5 separate regions of the Homo sapiens genome follow, and all the other regions are linked to region 5. Evidence: promoter capture Hi-C in human tissues and cell types (Jung and others, 2019). All regions are on one chromosome and are shown on one strand. The core of a region is centred on a gene start or on the middle of the fragment in contact, and the rest is flanking DNA. Distances in the headings are between cores, read along the strand shown.

Region 1 (3,148 bases), core at 333-2,832, 320 kb before region 5:
CTCTCTTTGCCTGCTGCCATCCATGTAAAACATGACTTTCTCCTCTTTGCCTTCCACCATGATTGTGAGGCCTCTGTAGCCACGTGGAGCTGTGAGTCCAAGAAATCTCTTTCTTTTGTAAATTTCCCAGTCTTGGGTATGTCTTTATCAGCAGCATGAAAATGGATGAACACATATATATATTTTAAGACAATTTGAACTTGACATGTATAAATATATATTCATTTGCCAAGCTTTTGATGCCAGATTGAGGGCTTTTACTCCAATTATAGGGCCTCTACTTAGGGTTCCTTTTTCTCTTCCTCACAAAACCCATTCCTGTAAAGCAGCATGCTTTATCTCTAGTTTTGCTCTCTTTAAACTAGAATAAAACTGAGGACAAGCACAAAGAAACTAGAGTGCAGACTCCTCATAGATTTGAAGAATTTCCTACCCAGTAATTTTTAGTTGTCTAACCCTTGCCTAATTTGATTCATTTTTGCAACTCACATTTATCTAGCTTTCCAAAACACTCAACCTAGGTTTATAGAAACAACCCTCTTCTGATATTTGTTTTCATCAATTTACTTAACTCAAAATTAAATCTCATAATTATATGACTATGACTGTTATCACAAGGTATTAAGTAACTCCGAGTAAGCAAATAAGTCAACAGTTAGCAGGAGAAGAGGCCAGGCATCACCTTTAGCATTCTGGGAGCCCAGGCCATTGTTCTGTTTGTCTTACAGGGCACCAGATATGTTTCTGGAGTTGATCAAACAGGTTGGTTGAGAAGGCTTCTACAGTGTTTCATGGTATTACAGCTAGCCCCAGGAATGCCCATATCCACCTATAGAACCACTCCTTTGTGAAAGATTTCTTAAAAAGATATATGTAAGACAGTTCTCTGGGGGCCTTGGACTAACCCATTTCTTCCCATTTCTTACTTGTTCTCAATAATAACTGATGAGTGTGCTGGGAATGCAATATCTTGAGATAAGGGGGAGCTGACTGGAACAGCCTGGGCTCTGTTCCAGCCTCTCCTAGAAAAAGGATGTCCCTTCAATGGTTTAGCTTAATGAGTCCTGTAACCACAGGGTATAAAACTCAGGGCAGGATGCTTTTTCGGGTCCCTCAGCTGCGATGCAATTGGGGCATACACAGATGAAACTCCATCTGCCATGGGCAATTTTCCTGAGACTTAGGGAGGCACAGGCTCATCGTGAATTCCAGGGTTCTGTTGTCCCTTGCTGCCTAAGTAATAAATTCACTTCATGTAACTTGCGTGTGTGAGTGTTCTGTCTCAGCAGACTTGGGCAAGTAACCAGCGCATAGTGAGCCTGATGTGCAATATACATAAGAAAGAGTAGCATAACTTCCTCCTAGCAGCTTGGCTCACTGGTAAAGGAGAGCTGGCATAAGAACCACACTTGGAGATTTTCCCACTGTCGGGCAAGCTTCATAGCACAGGAGCCCAGTTCAGGGGTCATCACACATTCAGGCATGGGTGAGAAAGCAGAGGGCTGCTGGGCCTCCAAGTGGGCTTTGACTCCATTTACTCACTTGGACTTGTGGAAGAAGATCAATGGGGAAAATGTCAGAAGTTAAATAGCTTACAGAATAAACTTACCAATGCAACTGCCTACAAGGCAGAAGTAGAACAATGAGAAATATAGTTTTTGTAATACTTGTTTTTGTTATTTATTTATTTACTTTTGAGACAGGGTCTTGCTCTGTCATCCAGGCTGAAGTGCAGTGGTGCAATCACAGCTCACTGCAGCCTCAACCTCCTGGGCTCAAGCGATTCTCCCTCCTCAGCCTCCCAAGTAGTTGGACTACAGGCGGGCACCACCACACCAGGCTAAGTTTTTTCTTTGTTTGTATTTTTAGTAGAGATGGGGTTTTGCCATGTTGCCCAGGCTGATCTGGAACTCCTGGGCTCAAGAGATCCTCCTGCCTTAGCCTCCCACAGTGTTGGGATTACAGGTTATTTATTTATAGTAATATGGTGAAGCCCCGTGAACTGCCTGCTCATACTCAAGCCCGGAGTAATATCTGTAACTTTTGTTTGCCTGTATGCCCCTCCTCTCTCCCCTCCTCTTGCCTCCCCCATCAAGAGTAGCCAGGATTCAAGTCATGCATTTTATCATTCTCTTACTTATTTTTGTTTTAAATACATGTATGCATACAATCTACTTAATCAAGGTAAAAAAAAAATAAAATAAACTTTTTTACTATTTGCCCAGTTGTGCCTGCCCTGGAAGTCTAAGAAAAGGATAATATAAAAGATTCAGTAGAAGCCTATAAATAATTGCATTATCTAGAGAAACACCAATTGTTTTTGAGGGAGTAAGAGGAAACCAGTGTTTCACAGAGAAATTAGAAATAGCTAACTTAGTTTCCTTTTGGTCTAAAAAATCAACGATCTTTCTTTTCCACTTATCTTTATTTTTTTTTTTTTTTTTTTTTTGTCACACCAAGGGTTTGAACCCAGTTGTTGAATTGCACTGTAGAATGGACCAAGAATGTGGCTATGGCGGTATTTCATAACTGGTTTGCCTTGGAAGCAGAGTCAACATCTTCCTGTTAGGGGATGTGGTATAATCACCACCTACATGATAGATGGGGAGGTCACAAAAAGTTCATTATTCTAGAGGATCCCAATAAGCTTAGAAAAGTTATTTCAACACAAACGTGACTGTATTTCTGTTATCTGAGATTGCTTCTTCCTATACTACCTGCTTTCTACATCATCCTTTCTTTTCTTAGAGGGAAAATAATCCCACTCTCTCCATTTCTTCTCTCAGATGCTTATTCTATAGTCTGTCCTGAGACCAGGGTTAAGATCTTTGCAGTCTTCCTGGTGTCCTGTAAGACAGCCAGTGTTATTCTAAGTTTGGAATGAGAGAAAAGATGAGGAAGTTTCTGTGTCCAGCAGTGTGGTCCTGAAGCCTCAGCCTCAGTACCTGGCATGGTGGAAATTGATTTACCTCGCTCCGTATCAGCAAGTCTGCGGAAGCCTGAGTCTATTTGCCATGCGAAAAACTATAAAAAGACCAAGGCCATTCAGATGTCTGAAGTCTGGCTGTAGCTGCACACATAGCAGAATTCCCTGGCTTAGATCAGAATTGACAAGTTAAAGAGATGCTCAATAAGATTGACTCAGCAG
Region 2 (3,429 bases), core at 212-2,711, 370 kb before region 5:
TCTTAAAAGTGTACAAGTTAACAAGATAATACTTGGCATCAAGTCCATCTCTAAGCTTCTTAAAAGGTCTTTAAAACAAACGATTAACTCTCTTCACACTACCTATGGATGGAGTAGACTTCATTGAAGGTTTGGAAAAAAAGGGAGAGGAGGGACTAGCAGGCAGGGCGGTTTTTTGTTTGTTTGTTTGTTTTGAGACAGAGTTTCGCTCTTGTTGCCCAGGCTGGAGTGCAATGGGGCGATCTTGGCTCACCACAACCTCCGCCTCCCAGGTTCAAGCGATTCTCCTGCCTCAGCCTCCTGAGTAGCTGGGATTACAGGAGCCTGCCACCATGCCTGGCTAATTTTGTATTTTTAGTAGCGACGAGGTTTCTCGTGTTGGTCAGGCTGGTCTCGAACTCCTGACCTCAGGTGATCCGCCTGCCTTGGCCTCCCAAAGTGCTGGGATTACAGGCGTGAGCCACTGCACCCAGCCAAGCAGTTCTTAAAATGCTCTTATAGCCCTTTGACCCCCCTTTCCCCACTCCCTGTGTCCTCTCTAGGCTGCCTGTCTGCTGGGTGCCCCCTTCGCTGCTTCCATGACTGCCTCTCACCCTCCCTCCTGGATTGTTCTGGCAGGCTCACATTCTTTTCCTTCTGTGATGCAGAGCAATTCCATGCTCTTCTACTAGAATTCTCAGGTTTGACTCAGAGTCCAGGGTCCAGGCAGGAAACAGAAACCACACCAGTGACTTTCACAGAAAGAATTTAATATACAGAATTGCTAACTAGAATTAGGTTACTGACCAGTTAACTGAAATGGCAGAATGTATAGTAAGGTATCCCAGAGGTAGCAATTGCAGAAGGCAGCTACCACCCCAAGGGCTGAAAGAACTATGGGAAGAGTTTGGAGCTATGAAAACATAAATGCTTGAGGATGGGCCCTGTGAAGATGGGATTCTCACCTAGGATGAAAGTGTACTTCTTAGTCAGAGCTAGTGTCTCTGAGCTGGGAGAAGAAGTGTGAGGGTCTGGGACCCAGATTTCCACAGAGGAAATATTGTCTATCTGGTGCTGGTGTTTCTAAGGCTGAGGTGTGAAGAAGCTGGCTGTGCAAGTGCTAGAAAAGCTGGCACCTGGATTCTGTGGCTGATGTGGAAAGGAACTGCCTCTGCGCAGTGAAGTAGTATTGCTACCATGATGCTCAAAAGAGTAGGAAACAGATAAGAAGAAATATGTTCCCTTCTCCTCTTCCAGCCCTGCAGTCTCCCTCTTGAATCCCTTCTTGGTGGAACCTAATAGAGCAGGTGGCCATATAGAAGTGTGGTTTGCAGGTCTGACATCAGCATCACTGAGCAGAATACAGAAGGAAGACATGGAGCTGACAGACAATAGCTTCATAACTGGTGTACACACCCAAAGCCACTAGCGTGTTTAGCAAAATCAAAGAGCTTCCAGTTGAACAGCGTTGCCCTTTCATCTCAGTGGCCTTTCTCTGTCATGGACACCTGGCTGGCACATGACTGAAGGAACTAGCAGGTGGGAAAAGGAGAGGAGAGATCAAATATTTAAGATGTGCCTCCTTTGCCCTCCAGTGCCAGATCCTTAGGTCTGGGAACTCACATCTAAGTGCTATTGGCATCTTCCTGGGACCTTAGGAAAAAATTTGCCACAGCAGTTTCCAACCTGTCTGGGAAGCACTTGAGGCTTAGCTCCTGCACCATCCACTTGGAACTGGATTGGTTGTCCTTGTCCCTGACTCTTCTATGATTTCCTCTCTGTATCCAGCTCTATTTAGATGGCTTATCCTCTGTAAATCTTCCCTCTATAAAGGCATTACTCTGCTAGATCTCCTCCATTCACCCCGCATTGCAGTCACAGCCAAGGCTCAGGCCCATGCCCATCTGATTCCAGGCCTATGGACACAACCTTTACCTCTCAGGACAGGGGGAAGTGATGCTTTTAAAATGTCAAATCTTGTCTCCTTCCCAATAATTTTAAATATGATTTCCATATAATGATAAGGCTTTGTGAGATTCAGAGAGGTTAAGTAGCTTGCCCCAAATCATACAGCTAGAAAGTGGTAAAGCCTGGGTTTCAATACTTGATGGTTTGGCCCTGTCTCCTACCTTGAAGATGACACTTATGTGGAAAATAAGTGGCAGTTTCCTCTTTCTTCTCCCAATCTCTCATCTATGAATGAAATTAGTAAAGGATAATCCAGGAGTGGTGGTTTACGACTGTAATCCCAGCACTTCGGGAGGCCAACGCAGGAGGATCACTTGAAGTCAGAAGTTTGAGACCAGCCTGGGCAACATAGAAAGACTCCACCTCTACCAAAAAAAAAAAAAAAAAAAAAAGAAAAAAGGGAAAAAAAAGGAAATTAGTAAAGGATACTAGCATTCCTTCCTGCTGGTTGAATTCTGCCTCAGAAGGTTTCTTAGCACAGTGCTCTAGAACACCACTACCAATTAAATGGAGCTGGCACACGAGATGAAACTTACTTAACGTGTTTGCCATGAGCCACCCTCTTTTCTTTCTTTTTTCTTTTTCTTTTTTTTTTTTTTTTTTTTGAGTCGGGGGTGATGGGTAGATCTCGGCTTACTGCAACCTCCGCCTTCTGGGTTCAAGCAATTCTCGTGCTGCAGCTTCTTGAGTAGCTGGGATTACAGGCGGGCGCCATCACGCCCGGCTAATTTTTGTATTTTCAGTAGAGACGGGGTTTCATCATGTTGCCCAGGCTGATCTCGAACTCTTGACCTCAAGTGATCCGCTTGCCTCGGCCTCCCAAAGTGCTGAGATTTTTGGCTTAAGCCACTGCGCCCGGCCCTATTTTCTATGTAATTTGAAAGGCGCTGTAGAATTTGATGAGTCGGGAAGCAGAAGCAACTGTGGCTCCACAACCTTTTTCTCCTCTGCTTTTAAGGCATGTGTTCTTTTGGGGTGGATCTGATTTTGTTCTGGTGTTCTGAATCAAAGCAGAAGCACGTGCAGGGGAGGTGGGAAGGGTGTCAGTGTAATCACAAAGGGGAACGCTCCCTGGCTCCAGCTCTCAGGAGGCTCCTGAGGGCTCCCGAAGAAAACTGTGCTGCCTTCTGGATTCCAGGCAGCACAGGCTCCCTTCAGTTGAACCTGAGGCAGTTCCAGCCCGCCAAGCCATTTCCCTTGGCCACCCAGAGCTAGACGGGGAAGAGGTAAAGGAGATTTTGGCAAGAACAGGCTACTGGCCCCTGCTGCTAAAACATGCCTGCCCACAGTGCTTCAGAGAAAGGTATTACTGAGGTTCCGGGGGAACGCCCTGATTGTCTCTGGAATAGGGATCCTTCAGGGCACGGGTCTGAGCGCAGCACTGGGGTGCCACTGGAGAGCCACATGCACCCACCTCCTTCCGTCTCCCCGCATCCTCCCCATGTGTGGAAGCACCCCTCTGTACCACGGGAGCTTGTAGAG
Region 3 (3,114 bases), core at 411-2,910, 270 kb before region 5:
AAATTGAATAGATAGATTCCTCTGCCTTTTTTCTTCTTTTCCAAAATTGTTTTGGCTGTTTTAGTTCCTTTACCTTCCCACAGGAATTTTATAATAATTTTGTCTATATCTACAAAAAATTTTGCAGGAATTTTGATAGAAATTGCATTAGACTTGTATATCAATTTGGGCAGAATTGACATCTTTACTATATTCATTACTTCCAATCCATGGACATAGTATATATATCTCCATTTACTTAGGTCTTACTTGATGTCCTTCATCAGCATTTTGTAGTTTCAGCATACAAAGTCCCATACAAGTTTTGTTAGATTTATACCTAGGTATTTCATTTTTGAGCAATTGTAAATGTTACTGTATTTTTAATTTCCATGTCTGCATATTCATTGCATTCATTGATAGCAATTACATTTTGTATGTTTATCTTGTATCTTGTAAGCTTGCTGATCTCATTTATTAGTTCTAGGAGTTTTTTTGGTAGTAGATTCTTTGGGATTTTTATGTAATCATTTCCTCCGAAAATAGAGGTAGTTTTTTTTTCTTTCTAATCTGTATCCCTTTCACTTCTTTTTCTTGCCTTGTTGTATGACTAGAACTTCCAGCACTATGTTGAGAAGAAGTGATGAGAGTGGATATCCTTGCCTTCTCCTGGTCTCAGGGGGAAGCATTCAGTTTTTCACAAGTAAGTATATTAGATATAGATGTTTGTAGATGTTTTTTATCAATTTGAGGAACTTCCCCTCTAATGTATTTGTTTATATTTTAAAATTTAGAAATTTAGATTATATGAACATTACAGGAGTTTTTTTCTCTTTCTTTTTCTTTTTAATATGATGACAATCATGTTTTTCAAGTTTTTTTCTCAAGTTTACAAAAGTACTTTTGTCATCTATTCCCACCCAAAGGATGTTGTATTGTTGTTTTGCTATTCTTGGATTTGTTATGGAATGTGCTGCTTACACAGAGGAAATGTTGGCTATCAATCTTAAGCTAACTCACTAAGAATGAAAATAAGTCTCAGGTCATAGTTTGGCTAGTGAAGGACCCATTTCTTTATGGCTTTGGGTATAACACAGAAAAGATGTTGGGAAATAAAGGGAAAGGGATTGTGGGTTCAGTGACCATTCTTCTGTCTCTGCTCAGCCCCCTGCCTCCCAGGCCTACAGAGAGCTGGCATTACAGTCTAAACTCCAGAGTCAGAGATATCTTTCCTCCTGACCCTAATTTCCTTGGGGCCACTTGGCACTGCAGAGCTCAAGCAAAGTGCGTGTTCATCTCTGACTCCTGCCTGAACACTCCAAAGTCTTTTTCCTCCAGGTCAGGGATTTTGTTTTGTTTTGTTTGTTTTGTTTTGTTTTTGCTCAGCCTGTTCAATGAGAGCTGCAGGACAAGAAGCCCCGCAGTGTTGCTTTCCTTTTTTTCCATCTTAGACTTTCCAGGCCTGCAAGTGTTTAAGTATACCTCTACTGCTTGTCTGCTAAGCCTCGCACGTCACATAACTCTCCTGGGTGTTTGATTTTTGCTTTAAAAAGATGAGCCTCCATCTGAGTTCCTACCAACCACAAAGTGAAATGAAAATCTGGCAAAGTTCAATCCTATAGATGTGAAGTGGTGGGGGGTTTGTTTGCTTCTTCAGTTTGTTTGCTTTAATTATGCAGGTGGGCTTTCTACATTAATCAAACTTCTTTGGTACCTCCCAGTCCCAGACCCCTTTTTTAGCTCTGGTTTGTGTTAACATAGAACTCACCATATGTATGTCCTTGGGGTGTCATTTTGTTCTCCAATTTTATTATCTTCTGTTTAAGCAGTGAAACTCCAAGTGGAGCTACTACCCAGGATCACAATATGAGAAGAACAGTTCATAGCTGCAAAGCATTATGGAAACAAAAAGTCCCCTTTAACTGCATAATGTCCCCGATTTACTCCTGGTAATTTTAGTGGCTTTCTTCTGAGAAGCTCAAAGCATTTCACAGTCTTTATTTGGCCACTGGCAGATTTCATAACGTGCGACATGTACCAGGATTGACAGTCATTCCCATGTGCAGTTCTGCATTTTATTGATAGGATGCTTTACATAATTTTGAATGAAAACAGCCTACAGACCTTTGGTATATTTGATATATGAAAACAGCCTGCAGACCTACAGCCTTATGTACTTCAGCCTACAGACCTTTGGAATATTTTTGGCTTCGAGAGGAGCACTTATATTTGTTGCCTTGGTAATGAATATTTCCTCAATTGCTCAAAGTGATCGATATTTTTAAAAAACACTAACAAAGACCCCATGTCTCTGGAACTGATTAGAAATGTAAAGGGAGTTGTTAGTCCTCCTCAGCCAAAAGGAGATGGATAAAAATCTCCTTGGAGTTAGATGAAAGATCTGGGCAACTGTTCACTGTGGCTAAGCCTTAGTACATCTGTGTCTTGAGGTTCAGCAAAGTGATATCTCTACTAAGATGGATAACTTCAGATATTATTTGGTGTGGACTGTATCCTACAAGAGGCTTACAGAACCTAAGATTGAGTTTTGCAGGACTAGAAGGAAAATACCTCTGAATTGTCTTCAATTATAAATTGCTTCCTTAGAGGGGGGTTAAGATTAAAAATACATTTACAACAGCTACAAAAAAGATACCTAGGAATAAGTTTAACCAAGAAAGTGAAAGATCTCTACAATGAAAACTATAAAATGCTGATGAGAGAAATGAAAGAAGACACAAATAGAAAAATATCCGTGTTCACAGATTGTAAAAATTAACATTATTAAAATGTCCATACTACCCAAAGAATCTACAGAATCAACCCAACCCTATCAAAATACCAATGACATTCTTCACAGAAATAGAAAAAAAAATCCTAAAATTTATATGGAACTACACAAGACCCTGAATAGCCAAAGCAATTTTGAGCAAAAAGAACAAAGCTGGAGGCATTACACCACTGAACTTCAAAATATACTACAGAGCTATAGTCATCAAAATAGCATGGTATTGGCATAGAAACAGACACATAGACCAATGGAACAGAAAAGAGGGCCCAGAAATAAATTCACACATTTGTAGCCAACTGTTTTCTGACAAAAATGCCACAAACACACATTGGGGAAAGGATAGT
Region 4 (3,452 bases), core at 160-2,659, 340 kb before region 5:
CTTTTAGTTTATGCTGTTTGGGTTTGCCCAACCTCTTGGATTTGTTGGATTAAGTCTTTTGCTAACTGGAGACATTTTCAGCCATTATTTATTTGACTCCCTTTTCAGCTTCACATTCTTTTCCCTCTCATTCTGGCAGTTCAATAATATAATTTTTTTAAACTTACATTTTTGTTCCATAAATGCTAAGAATTCATTCATTAAATTTTTTTTTAGTTTATTTTCTTTTTGAATAAACTAAAGTTCACCAATTCTATTCTTTGTTGTCTCCACTTTACCACTGAATTCATACAGTGGGGTTTTTTTAGTTTTAGTAATTGTATTTTTCAGTTCTATAATTTTCACTTGTATTATTCATTTCTATAATTTCACTATAAATTATAGTTTTTTTTAAAAAAACGTTTCTGTTTCTTTGCCAAGATTTTCTATTTTATTTCTTCCTAGAAAATATGTAAGTGTAGAAGCATTTTAATGATGGCTACTTAATGTTCTTTATCTGATAATCCCAAGTCATGATTCATCTCAGTGCTGCTGTCAGCTGATGGTCTTTTCTCACTTTTGTGTTTTTTATGGTTCTTCCTATCATTAATGGCTTTCTGTTGTGTCTTGGATATTTTGAATATTATGCTTGGCAGCTTTTGATTCTATTTCAACTTCTGTTTAAGTTTAGGTCTTGCCTATTTTTGTGAGCTATTGGTTCAATGACCATTTAATTTCAGAGCCCTTGCATATTGTTCTAGCTGACTTTGTTCTTCTGCTTCTGCTGGGCTCTCACTCAATCAATCCCTGAAGAGCTTTCAGTGTGAATGGAGGGGTAGTTTTGGAAGCACTGGGTTTTAGTTGCTGCTGCAGCTGATTGGCCTGCCACTGCCTTGGGTTTGGGGTAGATCACTTCATTAGGTCTCCGCTGGACCACCCCTTTCTCAGTTCTTCAGCAGAGGAGCAAGTATTTTTATTTGTCTATTCCTGTAGGTGGTTCAAGGCTGCCAAAAGGCTGCCTTTTTGATGTCCAGTCTGTGATATATGAACCATAGCAAAAAAACGCAAGGAACTCACTCTGACATCATCCCTTAAGGCTTGACATTTCTAGCCTTCTTCTCACTTTTTCAAATTCTTTTATGATTGTCTGCTGAATTAGTTCCAGGATATTTAGCTATTTTTAGAGAGGAAGAGCAGAGAGAAGTAACTCTGTGTCATCTTGTCCCTGAGCTGGATAGAACTTATTATTTTTACAACAAAAAATTCATTCCCTCCAATAAGAACAATCTTGTGTGTTTAAAAAAATCAGAAAATAAAGATAAGCAACATGGAGAAAGTAAAAGTAGATACCAGTATTCTCAGATTGTTAACACATTGATGGATTTCCTTTCTGATCTCCTCTGTATGTGTAGTTTTGGAAAAAGTTATCAAGTTTTGTATACGTATACGCTAATGTATCTTAAACGTAGACATTTTTAGTTTGCAAAGAAGACACATTGCTAAGTTACTTAAGTGAGGAAAGCTAAGATTAGAATATGAAGAAATCAAGAAAGCTGTCTTTATCGTTGTTCAGACATTCCAGGTACCAGACTTTAAGAAAGACTGGAAGAATGTCTCATTTTCAAGAGGCAAGGCAAGCTCAGGGGACCTCCACCACTAGTGATTGGGCCATTTCATCCCCTTGACACAGAGATCCATTGGTCCCTGCTACTCTCTTACTGTTCCTAACAGAGAGACTTTGTTTGGATCAGTTTTCACATCACTTAATACGGAGCATGTGTACTGGGCAGAGTCTTGAGCCAAGCCACATGATAGGAAGCTAGTTTCCCGTATGACCACGTTACACAAGTTCACGCTGGTCTCTTATGGCTCAGGCCCAAGTCTCACACATTGTGAACACAGTAGCAACGTTCATATAACACTATATACTACATTTTACATGGAAAAAAACTACCTGTGGTCAATGTCTCATGAAAGAGTTGTGGGAGGGGAGATACACTGGGAAACCCAGGCCTGTATATTTCAAATATTTAGAACATTTGGTGCCAGGTGCAGTGGCCCATGCCTGTAATCCCAGCACTTTGGGAGGTTGAGGTGGGAGGATTACTTGAGCCTAAGAGTTCAAAATCAGCCTGGGCAACATAGCAAGACCCTGTCTCTACTAAAAATAAAAAAAAATAGCTGGATGTTGTGGCGTGTGTCTACAGTCCCAGGTAATTGGGAGGCTGAGATGGGAGGACTGCTTGAGGCTGGGAGTTTGAGGCTGCAGTGAGCCATGATTGCACTACTACGCTTTAGCCCCTTTTTTTTCTCAAAACAAACAAACAAAAAGCAGAACATTTGGGTTGATTTCAAGTTTTTACTAATGTGAAAAACAGCCCTGTGGCTCATCTTTGCACTAGTCTTTCACATCCACATGGACATGAGTGACTTTCACAGGTAATAATAATGACAATACAAATCACAATTGCTCATAGGACATATAGAACCTCAACAGCTGTCAGTTGAGAAAATGCATTCATTTTGCTATACTTTTGCAGAATTCTTATGCCTGAATATCATATAACAAATAACTGAATATATCTCAGAGGCAACCGAGGTTCATAGAGCCAAGTGATACACCCAAAGGCATGTGACTCAATTGTGGAAAATTCTAAGGGTAAACTTCAGGCCTGGCAACATCTAGTCTAGGTGTCTTGCTACTATGCTGTGCTGCCTTTCTCTTCTCAGAAAAAAGTGTTCTTAGGAGACCAAGGCTACAATGCTGTTTAGAAATCCCTCTTATTCACATTTTAGGGAGACTTTGAACAATAAAGGTAAAACAAAAAATAAGGTTTTTCTGGTTGACTCTCAATTAAACAATGAAATTTATTAGAAATTAACTAGAAAATTTTATTTCTAAATATTTTGGTAAGTTGAAGATGTTCTATAAATAAGGAGATTGATTGGCACCTGCTGTATACAAGCCCTATTAATCACAGCTGCTTGAGTTCTTAGGCAGCCGTAGGATTTATCCATTTCCTTCATCATTGACTCTTTCGGTCACATATATCTAAGGGCTATTGGGGAGATTATGATGATAGTTTTCTCAAATTATTTACCCCAATCAAAGTATCTACTTTTTGGGAATCTCTGGTACATTGCCTTAGGCATAAAAGCTTAACAAATGGAACATGATTACTAATATTCCCACATTTTAAATTCGTGTTTAAGGTAGATGTCCTGAAATTAAGGGACATAAAAATTTTCTACACATGAGCATATGTTAATAAGAATCAAATAGTTTTAGGATAAAATTCACCTTTGAGAGCTGAAGCTATGATTGATGATATTTTCACTTCTCATTGAGATGTCTGATGTTCCACAGATCTCATCTGCTGCAGGTTGGAAGAAATTTAGAAGCAGCAATTCTTTTGGGCACTGTAAATAATTAAAAGATCACTTGTTAGAAGGAGGAGCAGTGACAGTAATAT
Region 5 (3,032 bases), core at 377-2,876:
TGAATAGTTTTGCCTACTCTAGTCCCTTTGCCTTTTCATATAAGTTTTAGGACCCTCTTATTGATATTTTCTAAACAATTTTTCTGGGAGTTTAAATGGGATTCCACTAAATCTATGTATTAAATCTTAATAATATTGACTCTTCAAATTCATGAATATGGTGTGTCTTTTTCATTTACTCAGGTCTTCTTTAATTTTCCGTCTGTCTTATAGTTGTCAGTATATATATCCTGCACATATTTTGTTAGGTTTAAATTTAAGTACTTCATTTGCATTTGTGTACTATTGTAAATGGATTTTTTTTTATTTCAAACTCTTATTTTCTATTCCTAGTATATAAGATTGTAAATGGCTTTTGTATATTTACGTCATATCTGAAAACTTGCTAAGCAAGCATTTTTGAAAAAGAAAAAGACAATCCGTCTCTATTTTCTCACTGGTAAGATCCCTATTTCAAAGCATTTTGAAAAAGATGTTTGAGGGAAAAACCTATACATTTTCTCATATTATAGACTGTTCACAAGAAGTCCACTAATGGCTTCTAAAGATAAAAAAGACCCTCAAGCAGCTTGAAATAACGAAAGTTGAAATTGAAACTCTGCTGAAAAATTATGTTTCATCTCTAATATTGAGAAATATTGAAACATTTGATAACACAGTGTGCTATCTTCCTGATACAAGCCCATGTGAAAGGCAATTTGGCAAATATCTAGCAAAATTACAAAATTATACCCTTTGATCCAGCAAGATATTCTTGTAAAGTTACAAATGACATATGTACAAAATTACTGGTTGTAATATGTTTACAATAGAAGAATAAAATAAGTGTGCATCAATATGAAATTGGCTAAGTATGCTATGTTGTATCTGTATAATGCAATACTATATGAACTTCAAAATAGATTTCAACAAAACCTTTGCATTATTGGCAGATGGAATTTAAGAAAATATAACGATTAGTTAGGTGCAGCCAACAATAAACTTCTACTTAGATCTACATATTCTAATGAGAATTCATTTCAAATGTGTCACTAAATCTGAACATTGAAATAAATAGACCTTGAAAACAGCCCTTTAGTTATTGATTCACAAAGTGTTAAGCCAAATTTTTCAAAAATAATAAAATCATGTTATTACAAAAATATTTTATTAATAATAATTTGACTATAGCAAATGTGCTGTTAATAAATTTTTAATGTTAATTTCACCTCTATGTCATTAATTTTCAAATTTTAGTTTTATGTATGTTGATAATTTATGTAGCATATTAGTACTGAGGTACAGAAGTATGATTTATAACTCAATGTACATCTAAAGAGGATACATGCTTAACTTTCTTTATTAATGGAATTTGTGATAAAGTTTGCAGACGCCTCAGAGAAGAGCTCTCACTTGGACAGGAGGCCCTGGCCAAGTTGTGTAATGAGGAGGGTTGTTGAGGGGAAAAGACAAAAAACAAGAGGTATTAAGCCCCAGAAGACAGTTATCACCTGCCTCAGAACACAAGCATGCAGGATGATACAGCTTTTAGTGCCAAGAAGTAGAATTCTAGCATCTCTAGGTGGTGAGAAACAAAGGATTAAGAATTTTTCTTTCTCTAACACTCTAAAGAAATGTTCTTGAGCTAGGAAAGGATTACTCGCGCCTCGTTAGAATCAGACATGGCTTCAGGGGATGCAGGACGCTCCCCTGAGCTGCCTGTCACCGACTAAGTGGAGCAGTGTTTCTTCCGCAGACTCAACTGAGAAGTCAGCCTCTGGGGCAGGCACCAGGAATCTGCCTTTTCAGTAAGACCTAAATTACTCTTATGAGAACCAGCAATGGCAGGTTCTTGAAGGATGTAGAACATGATGCTTGGGGTTATCATTGCTGCGGGTTTTCTTTGGACTTGTTTGAGATCAGTAAAATTCTAAGGCAGGGGATGGAAACCAACTCTATTTGTAAGCTCTGTATCTTTTTTTCTTTTTTCTTTTCTTTTTTTTTTTTTTTTTTAGACAGGGTCTCTCACTCTGCTGCCCAGGCTGGAGTGCAGTGTCACAATCATGGCTCACTATGGCCTCAAACTCCCAGCCTCAAGTGATCCTCCCACCTCAGCCTCCCCAGTAGCTGGGACCACAGGCACACACCACCATGCCTGGCTAATTTTTGTATATTTTGTAGAGGCAGGGTCTACCTTTGCTGCCCAGGCTAGTCTCAAACTCCTGGCTTCAAGCAATCTGCTCACCTCAGCCTCCCAAAGTGCTTGGATTACAGGTATCACCCACCATGCCTGGCCTTAGCTCTGCATCTTAAACCTCGTTTGTCTGTCCCTCACAGCTTAACACAGTGCTGTACACAGCGGACTGGCATGCTCTCTCTGAAAAGGGCCAGATAATAATATGTTAGGCTTTGTGGTCTATACGGCCTCAAACACAATTACTGAACTCTGCCACTGTAGTTGGAAATCAGCCACCAATGATATATTACCAAATGGGTGTAGCTATGTTTCAATAAAACTTTACATACAAAAGCGGGCCTGGTTTGCCCACGCTTGCTATTCACGTTTGTAATGTACATGCCCCTCATGCAATGCAGTTCCTTACCTTATTGCTTAGTCACCTTAAAGCCCTGCTTGTTACTTGGTGCGGTGGCCTTGCTGATGACTACTTATCCCTGTTTTGGGCCTAGCCTTTCAATGCAGGAATCCAGCCCCAGGGAGAGAAACTAATGACTGGAGAAGTTTCTAGGCAAGTGCAGAAAATGACACGGGATGAACATATGTAAGAACATCAAGTTCAGGATCCCGAGTAGTTGTCAGAAATTTCACTTCACCCCATCCCAGCAAGGCTGTTGTATTTGGGGAAGACATTATTTCAAGAGGGGAAGAGATTGTGGAAAATCAGTAGGCAGCAGGAGACAGCTCTCTTGATCCTACTCCCATTTCAGATGATTCCGCAGGGGTCTCTTTATTGCCCCTCTGCTCCCCCAGGTGCTTTCCTCCTTTCATGAGGCTTTGTCCTCCATCCCTCTTGCTCCCCAGTCAGGTGCCAGAC

The links. Contacts are between HindIII fragments. The study calls those that stand out against the background at their distance.
Region 1: a fragment that was not itself captured here is called in contact with the fragment with the promoter of LYZL1 in region 5 in 4 of the 25 tissues and cell types used here (heart left ventricle, mesendoderm cells, ovary and 1 more).
Region 2: a fragment that was not itself captured here is called in contact with the fragment with the promoter of LYZL1 in region 5 in 4 of the 25 tissues and cell types used here (H1 embryonic stem cells, heart right ventricle, small bowel and 1 more).
Region 3: a fragment that was not itself captured here is called in contact with the fragment with the promoter of LYZL1 in region 5 in 2 of the 25 tissues and cell types used here (dorsolateral prefrontal cortex and mesendoderm cells).
Region 4: a fragment that was not itself captured here is called in contact with the fragment with the promoter of LYZL1 in region 5 in 3 of the 25 tissues and cell types used here (heart right ventricle, mesenchymal stem cells and mesendoderm cells).

The regions. Positions count from the first base shown.
Region 1 is chr10:28,962,954-28,966,101 of GRCh38, forward strand. No RefSeq gene overlaps it. Among named protein-coding and RNA genes, the nearest start is that of C10orf126, 120 kb to the left of the region's middle. The HindIII fragment of the contact is 3,221 bases long and covers 1-3,148 here.
Region 2 is chr10:28,921,681-28,925,109 of GRCh38, forward strand. No RefSeq gene overlaps it. Among named protein-coding and RNA genes, the nearest start is that of C10orf126, 77 kb to the left of the region's middle. The HindIII fragment of the contact is 5,125 bases long and covers 1-3,429 here.
Region 3 is chr10:29,014,502-29,017,615 of GRCh38, forward strand. No RefSeq gene overlaps it. Among named protein-coding and RNA genes, the nearest start is that of C10orf126, 170 kb to the left of the region's middle. The HindIII fragment of the contact is 4,878 bases long and covers 1-3,114 here.
Region 4 is chr10:28,945,633-28,949,084 of GRCh38, forward strand. No RefSeq gene overlaps it. Among named protein-coding and RNA genes, the nearest start is that of C10orf126, 100 kb to the left of the region's middle. The HindIII fragment of the contact is 4,803 bases long and covers 1-3,452 here.
Region 5 is chr10:29,287,444-29,290,475 of GRCh38, forward strand. It overlaps LYZL1 (lysozyme like 1), which reads left to right and starts at 1,627. Exons shown (of 5, transcript NM_032517.6): 1 at 1,627-1,787. The HindIII fragment of the contact is 13,518 bases long and covers 1-3,032 here.